Regions from separate parts of the Homo sapiens genome. Here region 2 is linked to region 1. The links are contacts of gene promoters, found by promoter capture Hi-C in human tissues and cell types (Jung and others, 2019). All regions are on one chromosome and are shown on one strand. Each heading gives the region's core, a stretch centred on a gene start or on the middle of the fragment in contact. The rest is flanking DNA. Distances are from core to core; before and after follow the strand shown.

Region 1 (7,590 bases), core at 3,023-5,522:
GGGAGGAGTAGTGAGCAGCCCGTCCCTAAAGGAGTCCAAGCAAAGTTTCTGCGCAGGATGCCTTTGGCTGTGTGGTGGGAAGGAGGTGTCTTGCAGCGTGGTTCACTGCCCAGGAGGACCCCCAGGACCCACTGTTGGTGACATCCCGGCCGCCTTGGTGCTGATTCCTGGGCTCTGACCTGAGACCTCTGGGTTCTGAGCTGTGATGTTGCTCTCGAGCTGGGATCTCCGGGGTCTTGGTTCAGGGCCGGGGCCTCTGGGTTCCAAGCACCAGTGAGGAGAGTGCTGGGAGGGGAAGGGGTGGGAGGGCTTTGGTCTTGTGGGAGGGAGAGAAGGAGGGGAGGTGTGTGGTGGGACCTGCTGAGGAACACATTTTGAGCTACATCTTTATTGGAGAAGGAGACAGTGGGGTTTTTGGCCATGGGAGGGGAGGAATGGGGTGCGGATCAGCAGGGCCTCAGGGGGAGCGGTAGTGTGGCCAATTCTGGATGAGGTGGTAGAGCTGGTTGCCTGGAGAGAGTGTACGCTGCACATCCCGGTGTCCTTTGAGCACATAGTTGGACCTCAGGGCTCCCTGAGCCACACCGCAGGCCAGTAGACCCTGGGCTGCCCGGATGGCCTGGGGTGTGGGCACCCGATCTGGAGGAGGCAGAGGTAGGAGTCAGGCAGGGGCTTCCCCGAAGGGGAAGTGATAGCGTAGGGCCCCGTGTCAGCCCCCATCCCAACTGGCTGGACAGTCACTCACCCATGTAGTTGCCCATGAAGCTGATGCCAATGGACATGGGGTTCCATAAGTGACCTGAGTGGGCACCCGTGAAGTTCCAGCCACGGCCCTCGTATACGAGCCCGTCTTCTCCAATCAGGAAGCTGCATGGGGAGGTGGGGGGGCTTGATGAGTGAGGGAGGGTTTCCCGAGGAGGACTCCTCCTCCTTCCTCCACTCACCCTGCCTCCGTTACTGCCGTGGTGCACACAACTTCCCCAGCATCCTTCTCACCCGTTAATTTCCCACGATAGTAACAATGACTGTGGTCATTTATTGGGCCCCTGCCATGTGCCAAGCACAGCTCTGCATACACCTTTTTCCATCCTCACAGCAACCCTGTGAGTCACTATCACCCCCGTTTTATATAGACAGAATCAGAGCGGTAGAATCACCTGCCCCGGGGTCACACAGCCTGTCTGGGGCACAGCTGGGGTTTTTAACCAGGCCTCCATGGTCCCCACCCATGTGATCTTGTGCGTTGCTCTCTCCTGCCTCCCTAGAGGATTTGTGGAAGTCCTGTTTTACTGAATCCTTGCAGGACAGCCCTCTGAGGCAGAGACTTTTTTTTTTTTTTTTTTTTAAGACGGGGTTTCACTCTTGTTGCTCAGGCTGGAGTGCAGTGGCGTGATCTCAGCTCACCGCAACCTCTGCCTCCTGGGTTCAAGTGATTCTCGTGCCTCAGCCTCCTGAGTACCTGGGATTACAAGCATGAGCCACCACACCCGGCTAATTTTTGTATTATTAGTAGAGATGGGGTTTCACCATGTTGGCCAGGCTGGTCTCGAACTCCCGACCTCAGGTGATCTGCCCGCCTTTGGCCTCCCAAAGTGCTGGGATTACAAGCATGAGTCACCGTGCCCAGCCAAGGCAGGGACTCTTATCATCCTCATCTTAAGCAGAGAGAGCAGAGACTCAGAAAGCGACATAATTTGTACAAGCTACTCAGAGCCCCCTGCCTCTCAGAACTCTGCCTTTGCCCCAGCTTGCTTCCTGCCCTCGGGGTCCACTGGGGGACAGGATCACAGACTCAAAGTTGGGGTCGTAACCAGATACCGACCCTGGAGCCCCAGCACCTGCCTCTTTGAGGTTCCCAAGCCTGGCAGCAGATCCTTAAGGCTGATTCATTCAGCACATCTGATTGAGCGTGTCTGACTTGGCAAATGGGAATGAACTAGAAGATCAGTGCCTTGGAGCTGCAGTATGTGCCAACTCAGCCCCCGCGCTCACAGTGTCATTAATGACGCACAGAATGTCGGAACTTCCGAATCTTGAGTCCCGAATCTGCTGCTTAGGAAGCCAGCTCCCAGAATCTGGCCCCAGTGATGCTGGCTGCTGGGACTGGCTGGTTATGGCCCTGCTGGTGATGCTGGCTGCTGGGACTGGCTGGTTATGGCCCTGCCATATTCCCGGAGCCTGGCATGATGGTGCTGGGGTCGGGGGTGGTTGGTTCTCCCTGGTCATTTGTTGCATGAATGCATCTCATTGAAACCTCAGCCACCATCGCCAAGCGGGTACAGTCAGAAGCCCCATTTACAGGTGAAGAAACGAGGCTCAGAGAGAGAAGGTGACGTGACATGGAAAGGGGATTCAGAACGTTAGAACCAGATTCGGAATCCTAAAAGCTGAGGGCCAGACAGCGGCTGCTTCTGTATGTGGTGATGTGGACCCGAGGCTCGGGCCTTCGTGACCTCATGGGAACACTTAGGATCAGAGCGCCTGAGTCTTGGAAACAAAATGTTGAAGTTGGAGTCTTTGATAAAATCTTGAACTGGAAGGGCTGGGAATACCTTTGGACACTTCTAGACTTCTCTGGGTGGGTTTTGTGTGTGTGTGTGTGTGAGACACAGCCTTAGGAGGTCCTGAGAACATGTGTCCCCTGGGTGGGGTCTATTGAAGTGGTCTCTGGGGACCTGCATGTTCCTCCAATAAGCTCTGCAGGAGATTCTGATGCTTACCTGGGTCTGAGAGCCTGCAGGATTGAAAGTTCCCTCCCTGTGGAAACCGTCAGGCTGGACTGCAGCCCATTCTAAGGAGGAGGTAGCTGGTAGGCGTGGCCCCGGACCTGCTTCAGCCTGCTTCAGCCGGCACCCCTTACAGTCTGTTCTCCCCACAGCAGCCAGAGGGAGTCTCTTGTACCTACACTAGCCCTGGTCCCTGCTCTGCGGGGGGAAGCCTCCCATGGCTCCCATCTCGGAGTAAAAGCTACAGTCCTCACTGTGGTCCACAAAGCCCTGCCTGGTCCTGCCCTTTCCTCATTTCATTCCGCTCGCCCGGCTGTGTTCAGCCACCCTGTCCTTCCCACAGGACCCGCCCACTCAACCCCGTTGGCTTTGCCCCCAGCACCCCCTGCCACCTGCAGGCCTCTGTCTGCTCCCCCATCCCAGAGCCAAGGCAGCCACTCTCAGGGAGGCTTTCCCTTGCCCCACCCTTCCAAGGAGCCTGTGTGGGTCTGGTCCCAGCCTGAGGTCACCCTCCCTCACCTCTTTCCTTTTATCCATCGCCTCTATCACCGTCTGAATTCACCTGTGGCCTTGGCTTGTTTCTCCCTGCTGGTCTTTCAACCCCAGGAGGCTAGAGTGGCACCGTTCTCCATGCCACATCTGGCACACTGCCTGGCACATAGTAGGTGCCTAATGGTAATAGCCCGTGGCTTTGCGGGCCCCCGTGTGCCAGGCAGTTCCTAGGTGCTTTGCCTGTATTGGCTCATATAAGGAGCAGATGGGCCGCGATTCCATTGACTTTGCCGAGGAGGAAGCTGAAGCCGGGAGGACCCGCCCCAGGCCTCAGCCAGCAATAAGATGAGCTGACCCTGGAACCCAGCTCCGCACTGAGTCAGCCTGGTTTTCCGCCTCCTAACAAAGGCACCAGGCATCAGGAAGGGGCGCCTTCATAAGGCGTCGCGGACACCTTGGTGTGTGTTAGGCAAAGCCTGCCCCTTCTTCCCGGGAGCGGGAGCGGGGCTTGGATTTCAGCCCATCCCCCCTTCTCACGCATCTTTGTGCTGTGAGCACCTGCCCCGGCCCACGTGGTGACCCGAGGAAGAAATGACCTTGTGAGGTTCAGTAAGCTGCTCAGGGTGTCAGCCAGGTGGCCTCAGCACCAGGCCTAGAAATGGTCCCGCTGGCGGGCACTTGCACACCTTTGCCTCTGGGATCCCCAGTCCAGCCCGTGCCCCCCTGCCACACTCACTTGTAGCCCACGTCGCACCAGCCCAGTGTCTTCATGTGGTAGTGCTGCACATTCCGGGCCTGCTGCTGGCACGAGGCGGGGGTGTTGCAGCTGCTGCCCGCCGTGTGCGATACCACCACATAGCGTAAGGGCAGGCTCAGGTGCTGGGCGCACTCTGATGCCAGGGCCTTCCACTCGTTCCGGGGCACTATGGGGCTGCAGCAGGCCGGGTCTTCTGTCTCCTGAGCCGCTCCGAGTCGAAGGAGGCTGGGGAGAGCCCAGGCAAGCAGCATAGAGCGGCGGGACATAGTGGCAGGGCGGCAGGGTCCGGGAGACCGCTAGGAGCGCCCGGTGGAGGGGCCGCCTTTATCTGCTGGGGGATTCCAGGAGTGGCCCGGAAAGTCTTGCTTCACACCCTGCTGGGACTTCCTGCTGGCCCAGCAGACCCCAGACTCAGCTTCCTTCTCTGGCTGGGCCAGGGCGGGATGCACTGTGGTTGGGGTCTGGGTCACGCCCACGGCAATGACAGGCCCCCTCGCTCAGCAGGGAGGGACGCACAGGCCCCTGGGCGCTTCGCCCCGCCGTTTCTGGAAGACCCGGGGCCGGGATCCCGGTCCTGCTTGTCTCTCCTCTCAGTGGAACATTGAACAACTCAACAGGAACTTACATCGCAGAGGCCCGGGGCATTGGCACATCTTCTCCCCGCAAGGACTGAGGTAACAAAGCTACCCATTTTAAAAACACTTCCTTCCCCCAGGTCCAAGCCTGATGCCATTTACGCTTGCAGCAAACTCAAGAGGTGAGTATCTGGAAGTCCATTTCACAGTGGAGTAAACTGAGGTTGAGAGCAGGGAAGTCACGGGCTGAGACACCGGAGGCACTGGAGCCCCGCGTCTAGAGCCAGGCTGCCTGCATGTGAATCCTGGATATGCAGTGTGTGAGAGCCTGCAAGTGGTTTTTAAAAATGTGTATTTAAAATTTTTTTTTTAATTTTCTATTTTATAAATAATATTTTCCTTTTTTTTTTTTTTTTTTTTTGAGATGGAGTTTTGCTCTTGTCACCCAGGCTGGAGTGCAATGGTGCGATCTTGGGCCACTGCAACCTCCGCCTCCTGGCTTCAAGTGATTCTCCTGCCTCAGCCTCCTGAGTAGCTGGGATTACAAGTGCACACCACCACGCCCAGCTAATTTTTATATTTTTGGTAGAGACGGGGTTTTGCCATGTTGGCCTGGCTGGTGTCGAACTCCTGACCTCAGGTGAGCCACCTGCCAGTGTTCCAGAGTGCTGGGATTACTATAGGCATGAGCCACCGTGCCTGACCTGTGTGGTGTGTTTTCATCTTCTGTGTTCTGCCTTCTCATATACATTGTACTCATGCTGTTACTGAATTGTGCACCAGGCATCTGTAGCACTTTTCAGAAATTATCATATACTCAACGACAAGCTTGCCAGATCCATGTTATTATTAACCCCTCTTACAGTTGACGGAACTGAGGCCCGGGGGGATGATCACATACAGGAGGTGATGAAGCCAGGGTTTGGCTACAGGCTTTCTGCCTGCAGAGTTATAAACCGTATTCTCCTCCCTACAAACTTATATAAGGACATTAAAAAAAAAAATCAAAACCATGTGCATCAATTTACCTTTTGTCACCTAATATTTCATGGGCATCTCACCAGGGCAGTACATCTAATTCTAATTTATTCTTTATAATAGTTGCACAATATGCTATAGTATCAGTTCAGCATTGTGGATCTTTTAGTTTTTGAAGGTTTTCCAGTATTTTCTCCACACTACGCAAAATATTTTCAGACATATATCCCTATGCACTGGTGCATTTATAAGTAAATTATAAACACAGAGTTATTAGGTCAATGAGTATACATATTTAATTAATATTACCAGATCATTTTCCCCAAAAAGCCATTAATAATTCATATTTTTCACCAGTAATGTTTTGGAGCCTCCTCACCCCGACCCCAGAAGTGGGTGTTATCACTTTTTTTTTTTTTTTTTTGAGTCAGAGTCTCGCTCTGTCACTCAGGCTGGAATGCAGTGGCACGATCTTGTCTCACTGTAAACCTCCACCTCCTGGGTTCAAGCCATTCTCCTGCCTCAGCCTCCCAGGTAGCTGGGATTACAGGCATGTGCCACCACACCTGGCTAATTTTTGTATTTGTAGTAGAGATGGGGTTTCGCCATGTTGGCCAAGCTGATCTCGAACTCCTGAGCTCAGGTGATCCACCCACCTCAGCCTCCCAAAGTGCTGGGATTACAGGCATGAGCCACCTTGCCTGGCCAGTGTTATCACTTCTTAAATTTATAAGTATAAAGTGACAGCTCCTTTGGCATTTTTATACCCACTCAGGAGACTGGGTATTTTTCTGTATTTGCTGTCTATATTTGGGCTTGCTCTTTTGTCAATTACCTGTTCATATCCATTGCCCATTAAAAAAAATTGGGTTGTTTGCCTTTTTGTTATTATTTGCAAAATGAACAAAAGAATCCCATAATTGGGATTTTTGACTTCTTGGGTGTGTACATTTTGTGTATTTCAGTTTTTTTAGAAGCATTAAAGAATAATGTAATATAAAAAGTGTGTAAACACATTTTTTATAGAGTTGATAGACTTAATAGAGTAGTGAGCTTATGAGTGTTCACGAAGTGAATCCACCTGTGTATCCAGTGCCTGGATTAAGAAGTAGAGCTACACTTAAAATTTTAATAGGAATTGGTAAATACAATACCAAAAAGATTTTAGTATATATTTTTCCCACAATATGATCAGTTTTTAAATGTTTTACTAATCCAAAGAACAAGATCTCATTATTGCTTTATTTGCATTTCCTTGAACATTAGAGAGGTGATTATCTTTTTACATATTTATGGCTATCAGCATCCATCTTCAAACTGTCTGTTCATCTCTTCTGATCATTTTCTTGTTGAGTTGTATATGGGGGATATTAACCCTATGTCTTATCAAATGTGCTGTAAACCCTTTCCTCTAATCTGTTAAAAAAATATCTAGGTTTTTCTTTTATGGTTTCTGTGTTTCCTGTCTTGCCTTAAGAGGGACTTTTCACACTAAGATTGTAAAACTTTTTCTATTTAAAAAAGATTATTTTGTGTTTTACTTTTAGATCTTTATCTCGGCTAAAATGTATACTTGCATGTGGTGTGAGGTAGGGGTCTGATCTTGTTTCCAGATGCCTAGCCGTTTGCCCAGGTTCTGTTTATTATATAGGTAGACCTGGTTTTAAATTTCCATTCTGCCCCTTATTAGCTACATGATCTTGGGAAATTGGATAGCAATTGACACAGTCGACCACTTCCTCCTTCTCAAAATACTTATTTCCCTTAGCTTTTGTGATGTAAGACTGCCTTGATTTTCCTTCTGCTTCTCTGGCTGGTCTTTTTTTCTCTCTCTCTTTTTTTCAGAGCAATTCTTCCCTCCTGGACCCTCAAACCATATATTTTGTGCTGAGTGATCTTATCCACATAATGGCTTCAGCCACAGTCAAAATGCAGAGGATTCCTGTATTTCAATGTCTAGTCTGGAGCTCTCAGTTGAGTTCTGGATCTGTGTATCCACCTGGCCACTTGACGCCTCCACTTGGATGTCCCACAGGCACCTCCAATGCAAAATGACTCATGA
Region 2 (7,590 bases), core at 2,207-4,706, 110 kb after region 1:
GGTGGTTGGATATTAGATAGATGTTAGATTGATAGACAACAGACAGACTGCATGCAATTTCTTTTTTTTTAGAGTCACTAATTTTACTTTTTTAAAATGTTAAAAAATCTACTTTTAATTTTTTCGTAAGTTATTGGGGTACAGGTGGTATTTGGTTACTTGAGCAAAGGAGCCACTGGCCACAGAAGTTTCTGGTTGGTGAAGCGACACCCCAAGGATCCCATAACACTTTGGGAAGTATGGCCATTTTTAACAATATTGATTCTTCCTATCCATGAGCATGGAATGTTTTCCCACTTTTTTGTGTCATCTCTGATTTGTTTGAGCATTATTTTGTAGTTCTCCTTGTAGAGATCTTTCACCTCCCTGGTTAGCTATATTCCTAGGTATTTTACTCTTTTTGTGGCAATTGTGAATGGGAATTGCAGTCCTGATTTGGCTTTACTGTTGTTGGTGTATGGGAATGCTAGTGATTTTTGTACATTGTACAAAAAATGTACATTTGTACATTGATTTTATATCCTGCAACTTCGCTGAAGTTGCTTATCAGCTGAAGGAGCTTTTGTGGAGACTGTAGGGTTTTCTAGATACAGGATCATGTCATCTGCAAACAGGGATAGTTTGATGTACTCTCTTTTTATTTAGATGCCCTTTATTTCTTTCTCTTGCTTGATTGCTCTGGCCAGGACTTCCTATACTATGTTGAATAGGAGCAGTGAAAGAGGGCATCCTTATCTTGTACCAGTTTTCAAGGTGAATTCTTCCAGCTTTTGCCCATTCTGTATAATGTTGGCTGTGAGTTTGTCACAGATGGCTCTTGTTATTTTGAAGTATATTTCTTCAATACCTAGTTTATTGAGAGTTTTTAACATGAAGAGGTGTTGAATTTTTCTCAAAAGCCTTTTCTGCATCTACTGAGATAATTATGTGGTTTTTGTCTTTAGTTCTGTTTCTGCAATGAATCACATTTATTGATTTGCATATGTTGAACCAACCTTGCATCCCAGGAATAAAGCCTGCTTGATCATGGTGGATTAGCTTTTCATGTGCTGCTGGATTCAGTTTGCCGGGATTTCTTGAGGATTTTTTGCATTGATGTTCATCAAGGATATTGGCCTGAAGCTTTCTTTTCTTGTTGTGTGTCTGCCAGGTTTTGATATCAGGATGATGCTGGCCTCATAGAATAAGTTAGGGAGGAGTCCCTCCTTCTCAATTTTTTGGAATACTTTCAGTAGGAATGGTACCAGCTCTTCTTTGTACATCTGGTAGAATTCAACTGTGAATCCATCTGGTCTTGGAAATTTTTTGGTTGGTAGGCTATTTATTGCTGATTCAATTTCAGAACTTGTTATTGGTCTATTCAGGGACCGAATCTCTTCCTGGTCCAATCTTGGGAGTGTATATGTCCAAAAATATATCAGTTTCTTGTAGATTTTCTGGTTTATGTGCATAGAGGTGTTGATAATATTCTCTGATGGTTATTATTTCTGTGGGGTTAGTGATAATATCCCCCTTTACATTTCTAATGGTATTTATTCGGATCTTCCCTCTTCTTTTTTAATCTAGCTAGTGTTCTATCTATTTTATTAATTTTTTTCAAAAAACCAACTCTTGGATTTGTTGATCTTTTGTGTGTGTGTGTGTGTGTGTGTGTGTGTGTGTGTGTGTGTGTGTCTCTGTCTCCTTCAGTTCAGTTTTGATTTTGATTATTTCTTGTCTTCTGCCGGCTTTGGGGTTTGTTTGCTCTGGGTTCTCTAGTTCTTTTAGTTGTGATGTTAGGTTGTGAAGCTGAGTTCTGACTCTCTGAAGTGGGCAATTAGTACTATAAATTTCCCTCTTACTCCTGCCTTAGCTGTGTTCCAGAGATTCTGGTATATTGTATCTTTGTTCTCATTGGTTTCAAATAGCTTCTTGATTTCTGCCTCAATTTCATTATTTACCCCAAAGTCATTCAGGGGCAGGTTATTCAATTTCCATGTAATTGTATGGTTTTGAGCAAATTCCTTAGTCTTGATTTCTAATTTGATTGTGCTATGGTCTGAGAGAGTGGTTGTTATGATTTCGGTTCTTTTGTGTTTGCTGAGGAGTGTTTCGTGTCTGATTATGTGGTCGATTTTTCAATGTGTGCCATGTGGTGGTGAGAAGAATGTATATTCTATTGCTTTTGTGTGGAGAGTTCTGCAGATGTCTATCAGGCCCATTTGATCCAGTGCTGAGTTCAGGTCCTGAATATCTTTGTTAATTTTCTGACCTGATGATCTGTCTAATACTGTCAGTGAGGTATTGAAGTTTCCCACTATTATTGTATGGATGTCTAGATCTCTTTGAAGGTCTCAAAGAGCTTGCTCTCTGAATCTGGGTGCTCTTGTGTTGGGTGCATATGTATTTAGGATAGTTAGGCCTTCTTGTTGAATTGAACCCTTTACTATTACATAATACCCTTCTTTGTCTTTTTTTATCTTTGTTGGTTTAAAGTCATCTGAGATTAGGATTGCAACTCCTGCTTTTTTCTGTTTTCCATTTGCTTGGTAGATTTTCCTCCATCCCTTTATTTTGAGCCTGTGGGTGTAATTGCATGTGAGATGGACTGCATGCAGTTTCAAGGGTTCAGGTTCACTGTTTATTTAAACCAAATACTACAGGGTATGATCTCCTGAACTAAGTGGGTGAAGTACACGTTTCCTATGAAACAGCCTTTTTCATTATCTCACAGGGCAATAACTTCTTTAGAGTTTTGATAAATATTTTAGTTCCCCCAGCAAGCATCAGATGATGAGTTAAAGAACATACCATGTTATTTAAAATATGGCATTTGTTTGTCTACATGCTGTTTATTGAGGTTCTTGGAAGCACCTTTTCATTATGTTTATAAACTGGTTACTTGCAAGTGGTTGCTTGCCAGTTTAAACTAGCTTAAGCTGTGGCAAAAAGAGGAATTTATTATCTTTGGTAGGTTCCAAATTAAAAAATAAAGTGAGCAAGAACTAAGATTAGAAGAAATTTATGAGCTTGGATGAAGGTTCCCAGTATTTCTCATTATTTTTATGTTTAATGATGTATAGTTCCTTTTCTGTAAATGATACACTATTCAGAATAATTGTTTTGGGTTGTTTGCTTCCTTCTTATTAATTTATAAATGCTCTTTTTATATGGGAGATACTAACCTTTTGTCTGTTATATGTTTTCCTCGCCTTTGTGTTTGTTTCTCAGTAATGCTGGTGGAGTCTTCTTTTTTGAGATATTTTAAATTTTTATGCAGCAGTGTCTTTTACCACTGCCCTACATCTTCTTTCCACTTTTTGGCTTCCGCTTACGTAAGGAGGCCATCTCCAACTTAAAGTTCTATGAATAGTTCTATATTTTTACTTTCTTTTTAGTCATTTTTATTCACATATAACTTTTTCTATAAGATGTGATGCTGAGTCTAAGTTAATTTTCTTGCTAATGAATGTCCTATTGAATCTGAAATTACTTGTTGACTAGTTTCATCCCTTTTCTTCTAATGTACAATGTTACTTTTCTTATATCTCAGTTTTCCATTATTAGCTTTATCTGTTGATGGACTCTGTTCAATTGATTTATGTGTAATTTTTCTAGGTAGTGTCTGGTTCATTTACAGTAGCTTTGTTTTAAATTTTAATAATAGACAAAAACTTCTCTCCTTATTACACTACATTAAGCTTTACTCGACAATATTTGTGCAGTCAGCTTTAAGAGCTCCCAAGTAATTTTCTAAACCCTCCTCCTAAAAAATAGCAAAATTTAAAAATGGGAATTCAGATGAAATTTTTTTGTAAACATTGTTTGGCTTTGGAAAGCATGAGCATTCTAATGTTTTAATACTTTCTGTCTCAGAGGTTTATCGACTTCTTTTTTTATTAGGTCTAGTTTGCTGTCAACACCCATTTAATTTTACGTAAACATGCTCTTCGAGGCTGAAGCGAATATGACTGATTTTCAGTGTGAAAATAAAACATAAAAACCCCTTCTTGGCTCATGCCTGTAATCGCAGCACTTTGGGTGGCTGAAGCAGGCAGATCACTTGAGGCCAGGAGTTTAAGACCAGCCTGGCTAATATGGTGAAACCCTGTCTCTACTAAAAATACAAAAGTTAGCCGGGCATGGTGGCCTATGCTTGTAGTCTCAGCTACTCGGGAGGCTGAAGTGGGAGAGTCGCTTGAACCCAGGAGGTGGAGGTTGCAGTGAGCCAATATTATGCTACTGCACTCCAGCCTGGGGAGCAGAGCGAGACTCCCTCTCAAACAACAACAACAAAAACAAAACTGTTCTTGGAGTTGTTTCTAAACAGAACTTGTCTCTAGTATTAACGTAGCAGAAATGTATATGATTTTACATTAGTATTAAAGATAAGAATATTCTTGGCCAACAGGAAATGGGTTAAAGCCTTGCAGAGGAGGGAAACAGTGAATTTTGTCATTCACTTAACCAGTTTTCACACACACACAGAGAAAGTCCAGAAGCCTGGCTGGTAAGAAATTCTTACCCTTTTGCTGGCATGCTACGGTTTTGGGTTCTCTTTTTCTGAGCAACTTTGGTGACCTTGCTCCCTGTGGCATAGCTGTGGGGGCCAAGCCACGTTACAAAAGAAAATGATCCCTTTCCATTTCATGGAACCATAGGCAAAAGTCTCTCCTTTTTACAAGAGGCCAACCAGTGGGTTGCATGGGAAAATAAGATATTGAATTAAATGCACAGAAAGAAAACAATTCATTGGGACATAAGTGACACAAACTTTGGTTCCACGTGCTGTCAGTTCTCTCCTTAAAAAGCCAGCACCCAAAGTTGATAGACTCACACACCCAAACAGACAGATGACAGAAAAGTCCACAGGCTTCCCCTCCTCACATGGTGTGGCAAAGAGAAAGTGAAGTGGTGAGGGGTTTTGAATAGAGTTACAGGATTGAGGGCCAGTATGACAGAGAAGGGGAGAGAGAAGGAGAGGAAGAGGGAGGGAAAACGATAGAGGGAGAGAGGGAGGGAGAGGGAGAGGAAAGAAGAAGAAAGGGAAGGAGGGAGAAAGGGAGGGAGAGGGAGAGGAAAGAAGAAGAAAGGGAAGGAGGGAGAAAGGGAGGGAGGGATGGATAGAATTGTTTCTTGGGACTGGAACCCAAACCAACTTAGGCCAGGGAAAAGGTACACTCTGTCCCACTGCCTGCTGAGTTGATCAGATCCAGGTAGTCAACGATTTCAACCTGTCCCTCACAGATATCTGTTCACGTGACCCAAACCACTAAGGATTAGGAGAGGAGAGACAAGGCACCCTAAGTGACAGAAAAGTTAGGAAGTGAAAAGGAGAGAAAGCAAGAAGGGAAGGGAGAAAAGCATTGCCTGCAGGAGGGATGGGGGAGGCAAGGAGGGCTGGCAGGCTGGAGAAAGACTCAACCAGCTTGGCGACACTGAATCAGAAGTTCAGGCAGCTGCTTGTCAGCCGTGAAGGGATCTTGTCCAGCAGTCCCATCAGCTCACAAGTCTCCCCCTCAGGGAGAGAAAGGCTCCCCACATCCCATTGTTGGGAATGGGTGCTCGGTGTCACAAAAATCAACACTGAGACAAAGGATCTCTCAGCAAGGCTAGTTTACTTTCTGCAGAAAGAGGGCCGCTTGCTAGCAGTCTTGCCATGAGAGCACACACGAACAAAGGAGACAGGGTCATTTATAACCTGATATGCCACCCTACTGCTGTGTCTGGCTTCCGTTGGCTGGAATGGGACCTCACATTCTGTACTTGACCTGATTGGCTAGCAACTTAGAACTTCCCCAAAGAGGCAAAGGCAGAGGAGAACAAAGGAAGACAGGAAGTAACTTGTGGAATGCTGAGAGAGGCAAAAGCACTTCCAAATAAGGAAGAGGAATAGGCTATGACCTAATGCTTGCTTGGGCCTGTTCAGGCATGCCAGGGCAAATATCTAGGCTAAAATGCGGTAGCTAAGAACGCAGAGTATATTGATTTCTTTATTATGGCTAGCAGATATTTAAGAATATTAGCACAGGTCTTTGAGTAAATTTTGCTTCTAAGAGAGGTTACTATCTATTCTCAATTAGACTGGGAGGAAAGTCCCTCTGAAGAGGAACCTCTACTTATTTTATTTTCTACACCATGATCCCAGGCAAGCCCCTAAATAATACATTACTGGTCTTGGGTTCTTGGGCTCTCAATGCAATAGAAACTGACATGAGGTCAAAATAGTTTTCCCAGACAAAACTTCATTGGAGATTATTCCTGGAAATAAGAGAGGCAGCACAAAAGAGAAAGAATTCCCTGATGACTCCCTGAAAAGAGCTGGTAGGGCTTTTTTTATTAGGCAAAGTGTGGGAATTGACATCAGGGGTAGGGTATGCAGGCTGGGCTGGGCAAAGCAGGAGAGGTATACGGTATGCAGGTCAGCAGTATCTGCTTAGGATGGTTTTCTTGAGGAAGAGACCACCTGGTGGTCTGGCCTGTGGCAGCAAGGCTGTGAATCAGTTGTTCAACATTCTTTCTGGAATCTTGGTTGTCTCCTAAGACCAGTTCTTGGGATTCTTTAAGTAAAAGGACTATTAGCAATGAGGTAGTGGCGTGGGTTTTGTGATCAGCAGGAATGTTGTAGTACAGCAGTCCCTAACCTTTTTGGCTCCAGGGACTGGTTTCCCAAGGAAGACAGTTTTTCCATGGACAAAGGAGGAGGGGGATAGTTTCAGGATGATTCAAGCACATTACATTAATTGTGGACTTTATGTCTATTATTGTTACATTGTAATATATAATGAAATAATATACATTATATATTACATATGCAACTCACCATACTGTAGAATCAGTGGGAGCCCTGAGCTTGTTCTTCTGCAGCTAGATGGTCTCATCTGGGAGTGACAGGAGACAGTGACAGATCATCAGACATTAGATTCTCATATTAGATAAGGAGTATTAGATTAGATAAGGAGTGTGCAACCTAAATACTTCACATGCACAGTTCACAATAGGGTTCATGCTCTTATGAGAATCTAATGCTCCTACTGATCTGACAGGAGGCTATGCTTAGGCAATAAGGTGAGTGATGGGGAGCAGCTGTAAATACAGATGAAGCTCCACCCACTAAGTCACTGCTTACTGCCTGCTATGCAGCCCAGTTCCTAAAAGCAGACACACTGGTACCAGTCCATGGCCTGTGGGTTGGGGACCCCTGCTCTAGTAGGGGTGAGATGAAGCCAAGCCCTGACTCTTCTCTGTCTCAAGGAGAGCCCTAGGTGCATAATACTGAGAAGAGGAGCAGCTCTGTAATTGCAGTTTTAGGCACAAGGAAGCATCATTGGGCATCCTGATTATCTCTTTAATGAATATTCACTGTCACTATCTTGATAATATCTGTAGGTATCATTTACAAAATTTTCTTAACTACTATCTTGAAATAATTTTAAACTTACAAAAAAGTTGTACAGTTGGTTTCTTTCTTTCACACAGATTCTCATAATGTTAACATCTTAAATGATCTTAATACAATTATTGAAAGCAAGAAATGAATATTGACTAACACTATTAATGAATCTACAGGCTTTATTTTAATTTTATCAGTTGTCCCCTCATGTCCACTTC

Evidence for each region. Contacts are between HindIII fragments. The study calls those that stand out against the background at their distance.
Region 2: a fragment that was not itself captured here is called in contact with the fragment with the promoter of PGLYRP1 in region 1 in 5 of the 25 tissues and cell types used here (aorta, heart left ventricle, heart right ventricle and 2 more).

What each region holds. Positions count from the first base shown.
Region 1 is chr19:46,018,781-46,026,370 of GRCh38, forward strand. It overlaps PGLYRP1 (peptidoglycan recognition protein 1), which reads right to left and starts at 4,273. Exons shown (of 3, transcript NM_005091.3): 1 at 3,955-4,273; 2 at 746-867; 3 at 373-639. The coding sequence starts at 4,241. The coding sequence ends at 458. MIR769 (microRNA 769) reads left to right here and starts at 152; the gene lies at 152-269. RefSeq lists an enhancer at 2,881-3,766. The HindIII fragment of the contact is 20,258 bases long and covers 1-7,590 here.
Region 2 is chr19:46,127,679-46,135,268 of GRCh38, forward strand. It overlaps a transcript of IGFL2 not described here. Among named protein-coding and RNA genes, the nearest start is that of IGFL3, 6.8 kb to the left of the region's middle. RefSeq lists enhancers at 5,130-5,961, 5,962-6,793, 6,794-7,590. The HindIII fragment of the contact is 6,419 bases long and covers 248-6,666 here.